Linked DNA regions of Homo sapiens: regions 1, 2, 3 and 5 are each linked to region 4. The links are contacts of gene promoters, found by promoter capture Hi-C in human tissues and cell types (Jung and others, 2019). All regions are on one chromosome and are shown on one strand. Each heading gives the region's core, a stretch centred on a gene start or on the middle of the fragment in contact. The rest is flanking DNA. Distances are from core to core; before and after follow the strand shown. Region 1 overlaps LOC105376740 (a long non-coding RNA gene). Region 2 has its middle 61 kb from the start of UBIAD1. Region 3 overlaps MTOR (mechanistic target of rapamycin kinase). Region 4 holds the start of FBXO6 (F-box protein 6). Region 5 overlaps LOC105376737 (a long non-coding RNA gene).

What was found. Contacts are between HindIII fragments. The study calls those that stand out against the background at their distance.
Region 1: a contact is called between a fragment that was not itself captured here and the fragment with the promoter of FBXO6 in region 4, in 6 of the 25 tissues and cell types used here (adrenal gland, dorsolateral prefrontal cortex, lymphoblastoid cells and 3 more).
Region 2: a contact is called between a fragment that was not itself captured here and the fragment with the promoter of FBXO6 in region 4, in 2 of the 25 tissues and cell types used here (mesendoderm cells and neural progenitor cells).
Region 3: a contact is called between a fragment that was not itself captured here and the fragment with the promoter of FBXO6 in region 4, in 4 of the 25 tissues and cell types used here (dorsolateral prefrontal cortex, heart left ventricle, lymphoblastoid cells and 1 more).
Region 5: a fragment that was not itself captured here is called in contact with the fragment with the promoter of FBXO6 in region 4 in 1 of the 25 tissues and cell types used here (H1 embryonic stem cells).

Annotation. Positions count from the first base shown.
Region 1 is chr1:11,376,696-11,379,395 of GRCh38, reverse strand. It overlaps LOC105376740 (a long non-coding RNA gene), which reads right to left. Exons shown (of 4, transcript XR_946959.3): 4 at 1,860-2,109. Among named protein-coding and RNA genes, the nearest start is that of DISP3, 100 kb to the left of the region's middle. The HindIII fragment of the contact is 5,798 bases long and covers 1-2,700 here.
Region 2 is chr1:11,332,607-11,335,306 of GRCh38, reverse strand. No RefSeq gene overlaps it. Among named protein-coding and RNA genes, the nearest start is that of UBIAD1, 61 kb to the right of the region's middle. RefSeq lists an enhancer at 965-1,467. The HindIII fragment of the contact is 5,983 bases long and covers 1-2,700 here.
Region 3 is chr1:11,215,666-11,218,365 of GRCh38, reverse strand. MTOR (mechanistic target of rapamycin kinase) reads left to right here. Exons shown (of 58, transcript NM_004958.4): 20 at 2,132-2,218. Among named protein-coding and RNA genes, the nearest start is that of ANGPTL7, 28 kb to the right of the region's middle. The HindIII fragment of the contact is 5,065 bases long and covers 1-2,700 here.
Region 4 is chr1:11,662,891-11,665,590 of GRCh38, reverse strand. FBXO6 (F-box protein 6) reads right to left here and starts at 1,391. Exons shown (of 6, transcript NM_018438.6): 1 at 1,336-1,391. It overlaps FBXO44 (F-box protein 44), which reads right to left. Exons shown (of 6, transcript NM_033182.7): 6 at 2,264-2,700. RefSeq lists an enhancer at 816-865 and silencers at 986-1,055, 1,106-1,325. The HindIII fragment of the contact is 9,200 bases long and covers 1-2,700 here.
Region 5 is chr1:11,311,471-11,314,170 of GRCh38, reverse strand. LOC105376737 (a long non-coding RNA gene) reads left to right here. Exons shown (of 3, transcript XR_946957.4): 3 at 1,768-2,295. Among named protein-coding and RNA genes, the nearest start is that of UBIAD1, 40 kb to the right of the region's middle. The HindIII fragment of the contact is 9,068 bases long and covers 1-2,700 here.

The DNA of each region.
Region 1 (2,700 bases), core at 76-2,575, 290 kb after region 4:
ATCACTATCTGGTTTTTTTTTCCCTTTTTTACTTTTATTTTTTGAGACAGGGTCTTGCTCTGTCACTCAGGCTGGAGTGCAGTGGTATGCTCACCACCCACTGCAAACTTGACTTCTTGGGCTCAAGCGATCCTCTTTCCTCAGCCTCCCAAGTAGCTGGGACTACAGATGCACGCCACCACCTTGGCACTATTCACATTTTGGGCCACATAATTCTTTGTCGTAGGAGCTGTAGGATTTTTTTTTTTTTTTTTTTTTGAGACAGCGTTTCCCTCTGTCATCCAGGCTGGAGTGCAGTGGCACAGTCTTGGCTCACTGCAACCTCTGCTTCCCGGGTTCAAGTGATTCTCCCTGCCTCAGCCTCCTGAGTAGCTGGGATTACAGGCACCCGCCACCATGCCCAGCTAATTTTTGTATTTTTGGTAGAGATGGGGTTTCACCATGTTGGCCAGGCTGGTCTCCAACTCTTGACCTCAGGTGATCCACCCAGCTTGGTCTCCCAAAGTGCTGGGATGACAGGCACCCGCCACTATGCCCAGTTAATTTTTGTATTTTTAGTAGAGATGGGATTTAGCCATGTTGGCCAGGCTGGTCTCGAACTCCTGACCGCAGGTGATCTGCTTGCCTCGGCCTCCCAAAGTGTTGGGATTACAGGCGTGAGCCACCGCGCCCGGTCGCATCATAGGATTTTTAACAGCATCGCTGACCTCTACCTCCTGGGTACCAATAGCCATGCCATCCCCCTCCCCCACAATTATGACAACAGAAATGTCTTCAGGCATTCTTGGATGGTTTTTCGTTTGTTTAGTTGGTTTGGGTTGGGTTGCGTTTTTTTGTAGAGGCAGGATCTTGCTAGGTTGCCCAGGCTGGTCTTGAACTTCTGCCCTCAAATGATCCTCCCATCGTGGCCTCACAAAGTGCTGGAATTACAGAGGGGTGAGCCACTGTGCCTGGCCAGCAATCACTATCTGACTCCACAGTTTTTATAATGATTACTTCCCCCAAATCTCTCAAATGGCTGAGATATATCTGCCAATGCATTCCCTTCTGTGGATTTTCCATCCCAGTTCACCATGACTGAGAGTTTTAACAACTGCCCTGCTATAGCACAACAGACCCCTACCTCCCAGGGATGGGGGCCTCATTGCTGGACCCAGCAAGTAACGCAACTCAAAAATCCCATTGAAAAATCTGCTTCCCATGACCTCTTCCAATACTAACTGCCTTCCACCAGAACTCAGCGGTAGGGATTTCTGAAAAGGAGAAAAAGAGCAGAATTAGACAGAGGGAGAAATTGAACTGTGATGCGGTGGCTACAAAGGGCCCAGACAATACTGCAGGGAGCCCTGGGGCTCCGATGAACTTTCAGAGCTGTTTCAAATCAAAGAATCCTATTTGATTCTCAAAACAACTTTACAAGGATGGCACTATCATTATCCTCTATCTATAGACGAGGAAACTGAGCTCAGAGAGGTAAGTGACCTGCCCAGGATCACACAGCTTTGAGGGGTTGAGCTGGGATTTCCACCCAGGTCTTTCACTCTCTAAAGATTCCTTCTAGGCTGGGTGCGGTGGCTCACACCTGTCATCCCGGCACTCTGGAGGCTGAAGCAGCAGGATCCTTGAGGCCAGGATTGAGACCAGCCTGGGCAACATAGGGAGATGCTCACTCTACAGGGTATTTTTTAAATTAGCTAGATGTGGTGGCATGCACCTATAGTCCCAGCTACTCAAGAGGCTGAAGCCGGAGGATCACTTGAGCCCAGGAGTCGGAGGCTACAACGAACTGTAATTGTACCACTGCACTCCAGCCTGGGCAACAGTGCAGGACCCTGTCTTGAAATAATAATAATAATAATTTTAATAAAATAACAAATAAAGCTTCCTTCCAACTTGTCCTCCCCAGTCTCCTAGGGCCTCGGAGTTCTCTGTTGGATCCTCTTCATTCGGCTGGCAGAAAACAGGGCGGCAGACGGGATGTTGCGTAGGAGGTGTCACAGGCCAGGTGTGGGCACGCCAGTCATCACTTCTACCCACATTCCGCTGGCCAGAACTCAGCCAAGTGGCCCAAGGTCGCTGTCTACAAGGGAGGCTAGCAATGTAGTCTAGCTGTGTGCCCAGGAGCAAAGGAGAAATGATTTAGTCCAGTCTCAGCCCTGCCCTGAATATGGGAGTGCTGAGAGCCAGCAGAGCAGACAGAGCCCATCTGTTTCATTAATTTGCTGTTTGTTCTTGGGCTGGGGGTGGAGGAATGCCCACAGGAGCTAATTTAGTTGGCAGCAAAAGGGAGTGAGTTGGGAGGTACCCATGGGTTCTGGTTTATCAGCCCAGGCCCAGGGCACATAAGGAGCAGCCATCTCTGAGGAACACCGGGCCTGAAATCCAGGGGTTCAAGTGCACAGATGGACCTGGGAGGTGGAGGCTGCTATTACTCCGTGGAAGGGAGAAGTGAGGCCAGTTGGTGGGTTAGCGGGATTCACCTGCCCCGAGTGAGCCAGCGAGTCCTGAACAGCTCAGGAAAGAGGTCAGGGGTACCTGACAGCCTCCCTTCTTCTAGGAGTTCCTGTGAGGTGTGTGGAGCCAGGCCTCAGCTCACCCCACTGTAGGCTGCATCCAGATGAGGGGGGCCAGGGCTTCAAGAGCAAGCCAGCCATGCTCCCCTGCAGAACTGGGGTAGGAATGGAGTACTAATCTCCTCTC
Region 2 (2,700 bases), core at 142-2,641, 330 kb after region 4:
AGCTGTGAGTATGAGGGGACTGGGGCTTCTGGAGAGCGCCTGAAGAATTTACAAAGACCCTTGGTCATGGAAGTATAACGTGTCCGGGGCCAGAGGACTCAGGACAGAGGATCAGGGCCCAAAGAAGGGATAGGGCTAGGCGGCAGTGAGGCCTAGTGAGAGGCAGGGCTGGGTGAGAAGATAGAGACCAAGCTGGGGCTGTGGCCCGGTGAGGCGGGGAGGGGGCTGGTGGGGGATGGAGGCTTGGAGAGGGGCTCCAGATAGACAGTGGAGACAGGAACCAGGATGGCCACAGACCTGGGCCACTAGGGGCCCTGCTGGGGCATCTTGGTTGGGGGGAGCACGCCAGAGCCTGGGGGGACAGTGGGACCTGCCCGCAGCATCCTCACCGGGCAGCCATCAGGAGCTACTGTGCTGGGGACAGAGGTGTCTCGGGGGGTGTGGCATGTTGCTTCCCCTGAAAATGAGAGTGACTGGGCTCTTTTCTCGCTGGGAGAGAAAGCGGCTCCGCTCTCCTTCTGTCCACAGTTCTGCCAGCTCCTCAATGCCCCCTGCCTGCCCCAGGACAAGGGCAAAGCCAGGTATCTGGTGGGACCAGATTGGGCCTTCCTGCCCACGCCCCGGTCTGCCACCAAGCAGCCTACACCATCTCTGTTCTCTCTCTGCTTCTCCTCCTCCTCCTCCCTCCCATACTCACCTTCACTCCTGTTTCCCAATAACCACCCTCGGAGAAAGGAGTCAGAGGAGTTTGGACAAAGTTCATCCTCCCCAGCCCCAGGGTGCAGACACTTCCCTCTCAGCCACGGCCTCTGTTTGGGGCTGGCCCAGACAAGGGGAGGGGTAAGGGGGACATCCCTCTGGCTGCCTGTAGGGTCCACCCAGCCGGGGAAGAAGCCTCCACGCACGGAGGAGTTGTCCACAGGGAGGGCTGCAGAGCAGACAGAGACCCATTTACAAACCAGGCCAAATTTTTTTTTTTTTTTTTTTTTTTGAGACAGAGTTTCACTCTGTCGCCCAGGCTAGAATGCAGTGGCGCGATCTCGGCTCACTGCAAGCTCCGCCTCCAGGGTTCACACCGTTCTCCTGCCTCAGCCTCCCAAGTAGCTGGGACTACAGACGCCCGCCACCATGCCCGGCTAATTTTTTGTATTTTTTTTTTAGTAGAGGCGGGGTTTCACCGTGTTCACCAGGATGGTCTCGATCTCCTGACCTGGTGATCCGCCCGCCTCGGCCTCCCAAAGTGCTGGGATTACAGGCGTGAGCCACCGTGCCTGGCCTAATTTTCTTTAAAAGTGGCATTCTTGTCTTCTAGAAAATACGATGCCATTTTCCTGGCTTGGTGAGGGGTGAGGGGCATTATCCCATCTCCGCTGCCTCTGCCTCCCTCCCCTTCCCCTCCTGGCAGTGCTACTGCTGTTATTAATAGGAAGCAGCTTCCCGGGGCAGCCACCCAGTACAGGTCATCCATCTCCCTCAGAGCGGCCGTCACCCCCCACGGCTCAGCACCCGAGGAGTGGCACTCAGGCTGGGAGCTCTGACCTCATCCCCACTTCCCTCCCTGCCCCCCTCCTCACCTTCTAGTGTTGGCATAGCAAGGTCCTGGGGCAGGAAGGAGCTAAGCTGCCCAGCAGGGATGCCCCAAGCAAGCCTCCCTCCAACATGAAATGTTCATGCATTCATGCATTCAGCAAACATTTATTGAACACCTATTATGAGGCGCACACTGTTCAGGGCCCCAGAGTCAGAGCAATGACCAGACACAGTCCCTGCCCTCATGGAGCTAACTGACATTCCAGTGGGGGAGACAGATATGAAAAGAATAAACTATAAATAAATGACAAAATCTTAGATTTTAGACTCACAATGTCAAATGCAATGAAGCAATAAAACAGGAAAAGGAGATAGGATGTGCTGGGTTCGGGGGTGGTCAGGAGAAGGCTCTGCACAGAGGTGACATCTGTGCTGAGACCTGAATGATAAGAAGCAGTCAGCCCTTAGATCTGAGACGAGAGCATGCCAGGCAGAGAGAATGGAAGGGCAAAGGTGTGGAGAGAGACCGAGTTCTGGCGGTACAGGGGCAGAAAGGGTCAGTGTGGTAGGGCAGTGGAGGAGATCTTGGGGTGAGAAGAGGCTGGAAAAAGAAGAGAAGGTTAGGTCAGGCATGGGACACAAAGAGAAGCTTGGATTTTTTGTCTTTTTTTTTCCAAGATGGAGTCTCGCTCTGTCACCCAGGCTGGAGTGCAGTGGCACAATCTCGGCTCACTGCAACCTCTACCTCCTGGGTTCAAGTGATTCTCCTGCCTCAGCCTCCCGTGTAGCTGGGATTACAGACGCGCACCACCACACCCTGCTAATTCTTTGTATTTTTAGTAGAGACGGGGTTTCACCATGTTGGCCAGGCTGGTCTCGAACTCCTGACCTCAAATGATCCCCCGCCTCGGCCTCCCAAAGTGCTGGGATTACAGGTGTGAGCCACTGAGCCCAGGCTTTTTTTTTTTTTTTTTTTTTTTTTTTGACACAGGCAGGGTCTCACTCTGTCACCCAGGCTGGAGTCCAATGGCCTGATCATGGCTCACTGCAGCCTTGGCCTACTGGGCTCAAGGGATCCTCTTATGTCCACCTCCCTACTAGCTGGGACTATAGGCACGTGCCACCATGCTCAGCTAATCTTTGTATTTTTTGTAGAGACAGGGTTTCGCC
Region 3 (2,700 bases), core at 14-2,513, 450 kb after region 4:
CTCCGCCTTCCGGTTTCAAGCAATTCTCCTGCCTCAGCCTCCCGAGTAGCTGGGATTACAGGCACATGCCACCATGCCCAGCTAAATTTTGTATTTTTAGTAGAGATGGGGTTTCACCATGTTGGCCAGGCTGATCTCAAACTCTTGACCTTGTGATCTGCCCGCCTCAGCCTCCCAAAGTGCTGGGATTACAGGCGTGAACCACCGCGCCCGGCCTGTAATAACATATTTGTATAGGGACCACTATACATATTTGTATGGGGAATCACTACAAAACTGTAGTGATTCAATTTGGGGAATGGTGGGGACCAGGAGATAGGTAGAAATGAGCCTACTGAGTCAAATGTGTGCCACATGGGGACCAGGCTGTAATCACCTTAGAAGTCAAAGTTATCATTAGGGAATATGTTCAAACTCTTCTTTAAGCCCAATCCTGTATGTCCTATCGATCTTGCCTCTTTGGGTAATGAGTACTATAAATCCATTACTCACTGTTTGAGATAGCACTTTTTTTTTTAAGTAATGCTTTTTATTTATTCCAACTTACCCGACTTGCATGTGGATAGGAGTGAAAATACATATGTTCATTTTCTAAATTATCCTTGTTAATGGAGAGAAACAAAGGCAGAGAGAGCTGTAAAAATTTGGGGAAGGGGGCCAGGCGTGGTGGCTCACGACTGTAATCGCAGCACTTTGGGAGGGCAAGGCGGGCGGATCATGAAGTCAAGAGAGCGAGACCATCCTGGCTAACACGGTGAAACCCTGTCTCTACTAAAAAAATACAAAAAAAAAAAAAAATTAGCCGGGCATGGTGGCGGGCGCCTGTAGTCCCAGCTACTCGGGAGGCAGAGGCAGGAGAATGGCTTGAACCCGGGAGGCTTGAACCCGGGAGCTTGCAGTGAGCCGAGATCATGCCACTGTACTCCAGCCTGGGTGACAGAGTGAGACTCTGTCTCAAAAAAAAAAAAATTGGGGGAAGGGGTGTCAAATATTATTTGCTACTTATTACTGGCGTGTAATACTATCTGAAGCTCATAACAAAATAAAACCTACATCTTGAAGACAAATCTTTAACCTGGAAAGTAGTTGAGATTTTCTTTACCCACACCTTCCTTATTCCCAGCTTTATTTAGTGCATGTTTTTTCTTCCTACACCTAAAAGGTACTGACTTCAGTAGAATCTCCTCATCCTATCCCTACCCCAGTTTGCTTGCTTATTTTGGCTCATAATCTCTCAGAGACATAGTTAATTAATTAAGACCTAAGTAATGAGTTAATTACTATAAATGAGCTACAATACCCATAATCAAGAGTTAGCTGTATTTATTTTAGGAAGGAAGTGGTAATTAATTAGAGCCAAATAAACAAAAGGTACATTTACAGTTGGTAAAAACTTTCAGGTTTATTTTTAAGTTTAGTAATTCCAGGAATCCTTCAATGATACAGACATTCATTGAGCACTGAATAGTATTCACGTCCCTGTTCTAGTGCTTGACATGAATTATCCCATTTAAGCCTTAGAAGTCTATGAGGTAAGTATTATTATCTCCATTTTCCCATGGAAGAGCCTGGGCACAGGGAGGTTAAATGAGGGTTACAAAGCCCCTGCTGTGCAGTAACTGGCTCGCCTTGTGTGTAAAAACCTCTGACAATTGTTTTGAGTCCCCACCACTATCACCATTTAAGTTTGTGTCTTTTTTTTTTTTTTTTTTAAGAGACAGGGTCTCACCCTGTCACCCTGCACTCTGTAGAGTGCAGTGGCACGTGCATAGCTCACTACAGCCTTGAACTTCTGGGCTCAAGCATTTCTCCCACCTTAGCATCCAGTAGCTAGAACTACAGGCAAGTGCCCAGCTAATTTTTTGTATTTTTTTTGTAGAGACAGGATCTCGCCATGTTGCCCAGGCTGTTCTTGAAATCTTGGCCTCAAGCAGTCCTCCCGCCTTGGCCTCCCAAAGCACTGAGCCTCCAAACCTAGCCAAGCTTGGGTCTTTGAAATATATTCTCAGTAGATAGTGTAGTGTGGAAACCCATTCCATAGTTGCCTTTATTTGTTCACATGAGCTTAAGGTAAGCCTGGGGGTTCAATGTCCTTCATGATACCAGCTGGTTGACCTCTTGTCCATTTCAGTTTTTGTTCCAGCAGCTGGGAATGTTGGTGTCCTTTGTGAAGAGCCACATCAGACCTTATATGGATGAAATAGTCACCCTCATGAGAGTGAGTAGAAGTTAATGCTTTGGCCTCTTCCATGTTTGGGTCAAGGAAGGCTCAGAAGCAAGTTTGAATGACATAGACTTTTTTTCACGGATCTTTGTAGAGCTGTTACAGTCTTAGTACAGGAAGTGGAACAAAGCCCACTGGATTTTGAGGGGGAGGAAGGGCTGTTGCTCCAGGTTCCCAGGTACAAAACTACAAGGCATGAAGGCTGAAGAGAAATCCTGCAGTAATTGTTCTGCCAGAAATAGACAATTGGGTTATTTGCCTCACACACAACAAAGCAATTTTACTTTAATATCACAAGGGTGCTTTTCTATTTTCATGAAAGCCCTCTTTGTTACTGCTCATAAACCATGAAGGGATTGGGTTTTCTTAGGGCTGTTAAATATGATGGACACGTGTTGGGCACCAAGGAACAAGGTGATGCTTTACCCTGCTACCTCCAAAACCATACATATCACCTTTTGACTGCAGTGGCACAT
Region 4 (2,700 bases), core at 142-2,641:
AGAATCTGTCTCAAAAAAAAAAAAAAAAAAAAAAAAGGCCGGGCGCGGTGGCTCACGCCTGTAATCCCAGCACTTTGGGAGGCCGAGGTGGGCGGATCACGAGGTTAGGAGATCGAGACCGTCCTGGCTAACACAGTGAAACTCCATCTCTACTAAAAATACAAAAAATTAGCCGGGCTTGGTTGCAGGTGCCTGTAGTCCCAGCTACTCGAGAAGCAGGTGCCTGTAGTCCCAGCTACTCGGGAGGCTGAGGCAGGAGGACGGCCTGAACCCGGGAGGCGGAGCTTGCAGTGAGCTGAGATCGCGCCACTGCACTCCAGCCTGGGCGACAGAGCGACACTCCGTCTCAAAAAAAAAAAAAAAAAAAAAAAAAAAGAAATTAGCTAGGCCTGGTGGCCCGTGCCTGTAGTCCCAGCTATGCAGGAGGCTGAGGCAGGAGGAACGCTTGAGCCCAGGAAGTCGAGGCTGCAGTGAGCCGTGATCATGCCACTGCACTCCAGCCTGGGTGACAGAGCAAGACTCTGCCATAAATAAATAAATAAATAAATGCTGGCAGCTTCTAAAGGCACTGTCTAGACTCTAGACGAAATAAAAGTCACTGGGCTCCAAGCTAGAGGCATCTAGGCACCAATAGCTTCCCACCGTGGTGACCGAAGTCTGGTCTCTGGCCCAGTCCGCATTTTCTTGCGCCCCTTCCCCCCCCCGGCCCTGGGCATTTTGTGGTGGGGAAGTCCATGCCAGCCCTAGGAAGCCCTCTCACACCGATCGGGGTCCCCAACTGCCCGGCCCGGCGTCTCGTGCTCGCCTTCTCCGCACCCACCCTCCCAGCAAGCTCTAGTGGCATTGTTACTTCACCGGTTTCTCGGAAACAGAAACTGTGGCTGGGGCAAGGCAAGCGCCGGATCTCGCAGGCGTGTGGGGGCCTGGAGGTCCCTTGACAGTTCTCCGAACCCGGCGCCGGCCTCGGGATGTGGCCGGGGTGGAGGCGGCCGCAGAGCCTCCGCCTGGGTGGCCCCGGGGCCAGGCCCCCAGTCGAAGTCCGGGCCCAGCCGCCCGCGCCCCCCACCCCTGGCCGCCCGGACCAGCGCCCGCAGGCTCCGTGAACGCCCAGGCGCCGGAGACCCCGGCTCCCCACTCGCCCGCCGCCCGTCCCCCCGGGGACGCGACCTGGGCGCAGCGGCGGAGCTCCAGGTCGGCCCGAGCCTACGGCCTCGGCTTCGTTGTCGCTGGGCCCCGCCGCCGCGTCACGCGCTGCGCTCGGTCCCCACCCCCGCCCCGGACCCCGCTGCCGTCCCTCTCGGCCCGGCCCCTAACCCTCGCCGCGGGAAGACGAACCTGGGATCCCCAGGGCCCGGGCCCTCGCTGCGGCCTGCGTGTCCTGAAGCTGTCTCCCCCTCCAGGCGGCGGGCGGCTCAGCACCCACACCTGCACCCGCCTCCTACGCAGGGCCGAAGCTCCCGAACGCGCGGCCGCTCCCCGGACCTCCGCACTAGTTCCTTCCTTATGCGGCCCAGGGCTCCACCCTTGACCCGCGGTCCCCTCCCTAGAGGCAGGACCTGACACCCAGTGGGCTCCTTCTTTCCCTAGGGCGTGACCTCCGCAGGCTTCATAGACTCAAAGGTAAAAAACCTGAGGTGCTAGGAGGTGGCTAACGCCTGTGATCCCAGCACTTTGGGAGGCCGAGGTGGGGAGGATCGCTTGAGGTCAGGAGTTCGAGACCAGCCTGGCCAACATGGCAAAAACCCTGTCTCTACTAAATATACAAAAATTAGCCGGGCGTGGTGGCACAGGTCTATAATCCCAGCTCCTCCGGAGGCTGAGGTGGGAGAATCGCTTGAACCTGGGAGGCTGCAGTGAGTGGAGACTGTACCACTGCACTGCAGCCTGGGCGACAGAGCCAGACCTTGTCTCAAAAAATAAAAAACCTCTGAGGTTTTTTATCAGGATTAAGTTCATGAATTTCTTCCATCAGTCAACAAATATTTAGCAAGCACCTTGTTCAGGCAACCACCAAGGGTTGTGCAGGCTGTGTACTGCACAAGGGGACTGGCCCAGGACACATTAATTGCAGTCAGGGCTACATGTTCTCCGTGGAAGGCCGTCCTTTTGCAGTTTGCCATGGGCTGGTGGGTGGTGATCCTGCCCTGGCCAAAGCCCTTATCTAGCTCACCCTTGACTGAGATAGCTAAATGTGAGGAGTACTTATTGAGCACTGGATTATAGTCCATGTTCACACTGCTATAAAGAAATACCCGAGACTGGGTGATTTATAAAAGGAAAGAGGTTTAATTGACTTATAGTTCCATATGGCTGGGGAAGCCTCAAGAAACAATCGCTGGGCGCGGTGGCTCACGCCTGTAATCTCAGCACTTTGGGAGGTCGAGGTGGGTGGATCACGAGGTCAGGAGATTGAGACCACCCTGGCCAACATGGTGAAACTCCATCTCTACTAAAAATACAAACAAAATTAGCCGGGCATGGTGGTGGGCGCCTGTAGTCTCAGCTACTCCAGAGGCTGAGGCAGGTGAATGGCGCGAACCTGGGAGGCAGAGCTTGCAGTGAGCTGAGATTGCGCCACTGCACTCCAGCCTGGGCGACAGAGCGAGACTCCATCTCAAAAAAAAAAAAAAAAAAAAGAAAAGAAAAGAAAAAAGGAACTTACAATCATGGTGGTGGAAGGTGAAGGGGAAGCAACGACCT
Region 5 (2,700 bases), core at 105-2,604, 350 kb after region 4:
TGCTCAACGCAGCCTGGGAAGACCTCATTTTCTGAACATCCTCAGGGGACAAAGTTGCACTGAGGCCTCATGACCTGTGGCCTGGAAAGCCCTCCAGGTATCTAACCTGTGTCTTTCTTGCTGTACCCTGAACTCCAATCCCTGCCTGATGAATGCGGCTCTCTTGCGGAAAGGAAATGTTGCCTAATGTCACAAATGCTATAAATATAAGGTTAACAGCATGGGCTCTGGAGGCAGAGTACTAGGGTTCAGTTCCTAGCTCTGCCACTTGAGAGCTGTGTGTCTTCAGCAAGCCACTTACCCTCCCTGTGCCTCAGTTTCCCCATCTATAAAATGGGAGGCACCTATCCTGCAGAGAGGCTGTAAGGAGTTAGTACTTTTGCCGTGCTCAGTACCAACTTCACACATAGCAAGCACTCCATAAAAGTGGACCCCTACTGTTTCCAGCCTCCCCATGCTCCAGTCACTGCTGAGAGCATCTTCTTTGGAGATGGAAGATGTGGCTATAAGCGGGGCAACAAGGAGAGGGTGGAGGTGGGTGAAGGGTGTGGGATGGTGCACAGTTTGGAGGGTCTACCTTCCTAGACTGATGTTGCCCATCATGATATCTGAAAAGGGGTCCTGGGGACACAGATATCACAACCTTTAGGGGCTGGCCATGTTGGCATCAGACACAGCCACTGCAGGAACCCCTGGCAGCCTGGCTGTCAGCAGTGATTGTCTAGAGTGCAGGGGAAGCTGGGAACAATAATGGGTGACCTTAAGGATGGTATGAGACTTCTGAGACCAGTTCATAAAAAAGCCATGGTAGGGGGCTGGGCACAGTGGCCTCATGCCTGTAATCCCAGCACTTTGGGAGGTTGAGGTAGGAGGATCACTTGAGGTCAGTTCGAGACCAGCCTGGGTAACATAGTGAGACCCCCATCTCTACCAAAGAAAAAACTAAAAATGAGCTAGGTGTGGTGGTGCCCGCCTATAGTCCCAGCTACTTGGGAGGCTGAGGTGGAAGGAGTGCTTGAGCCCAAGAGTTCGAGGCTGCAGTGGGCTATGATCCCACCACTGCACTCCAGCCTGGGTGACAGAGTGAGACCCTATCTCAAAAAAAAAAAAAAAAACAACCATGGCGGCTTTGGCCTGGTTCTTTCTCTTCTGTATCACCCACTCTGGGGAGTGCCAACACGTGGGGAGGCCTGTGCTGAAGGAGCCTAGCACCATGTGAGTTCTATCTTGGAGGTGGGTCCTCCAGCCCCAGCAAGACCCCTGACGACGGTGACCTCAGGAGAGACCCTGAACTCAGCTGCCCACAGGTTCCTGACCCACAGAAACTGGAATATAGAGATGTTTATTGTTGTCTTAAGCTGCTAAGTTTGGGGTAGCTCACTAATCCAGGTGGGAAGGGAGACAGATGGGAGGGCCAGGGTCCCTTCACCCTGCAGCATGGCACTCATGGAACACATCCACGGCTCTGCCCTCCCATCTGCCCTTTTATTCCAGTGAAATCCACTTCTGTGTTCTGCCACCTCCCAACACCCCGACACCCCCGCCCCCGCCCTTCCTGTCTTTTTGTCCTGACTATGCTGCTTTCTCAGTGGCTCCTGGCTGGGGTGAGGGGCTCAGCCCTTCTCACCTCCAGAGCTGGCAGCTGTCGGTCATCTAATAGAGAGATCGCAGAGCAGCTTCTGAGAGCGGCTGTGCAGAGCATGGGAAGCCCTGTAGATCTTAATCCTTTCCCTCTTTAATCTTTCTTCCTCGTTCTTTGGTCCACAGGTTTTCACACGCACTGCAGAGTTTCCAGAGATAAAGCCCCACAACCAGAGATGGCAAAGCACCTCCTTTCTCTGCCTCCAGAGAGGAGAATTCAGCCGAGCAGGAAACTACGGAGTCTCTGATTGGCTTCTGAGAGCTGGAGCAGTTTGTGAGTGTCAGGGACCCAGGAACCTCAGCCCCAGGCTGTCATTCCCTTCGGCTTCTGGCTCAGTCCTGCTGCATCTTATAAGGCCCCTGGGTGAACTAGGGGCTGGGAGGTGGTGCGTTACCCCTAGAGCAGCTGGGCCCACAGGCTCACCAGGCTGAGGGAGTGTGGCCTCACGATCAAGAGCAGGGGATTTTGAGGTCAGACAGGACTGGGAGCAAATCTCAGCCCTGCAGCTTCCTGCTGTGGGACTGTAGATAAATGACTGGGTTTCTCTGGGCCTGCAAAGCTCTCAATAAACAGGAGCAGCCAGCAGCAGGACTGGAGTCCACAGGTGATCTGTCTCTGACCTCAGGTGTCCACAACCATCCTCTCAGAAGACAGGCAAGCAAGGCAGCTCTCCTGCCCCTCAGCACTGGCCACGCTGGGACACAGTGGGACACCAGGACTTTAAGCCATCCTTTAGGCCAAAGAATCCCCACATAACAAATTCATTGTGTGCAATAAAGAACTTGGCTGCACCCCTATCGGGGCGTTTGAGATCCAAATTGCTGCCTTGGCACTTTGGAGACACAGAAAGGAGAAATGAGCTCAGGGTCTCTGGGAAAAGCCCTTTAAACCTGCTTGAGAAATCAGATTTGTCTGGCTGCGGCTCATCTGCCCTCCAGGTCTGGAATAAGGGGAAGGGACTCTGGAGGGCTGTCTGACAGGCATGGAAAGCAGTGGGCAAGGGAGGGCAAGGTTTAGGGAAAGAGGGTGACAGGGTGGCAGGATGGTTCATGCCTGTA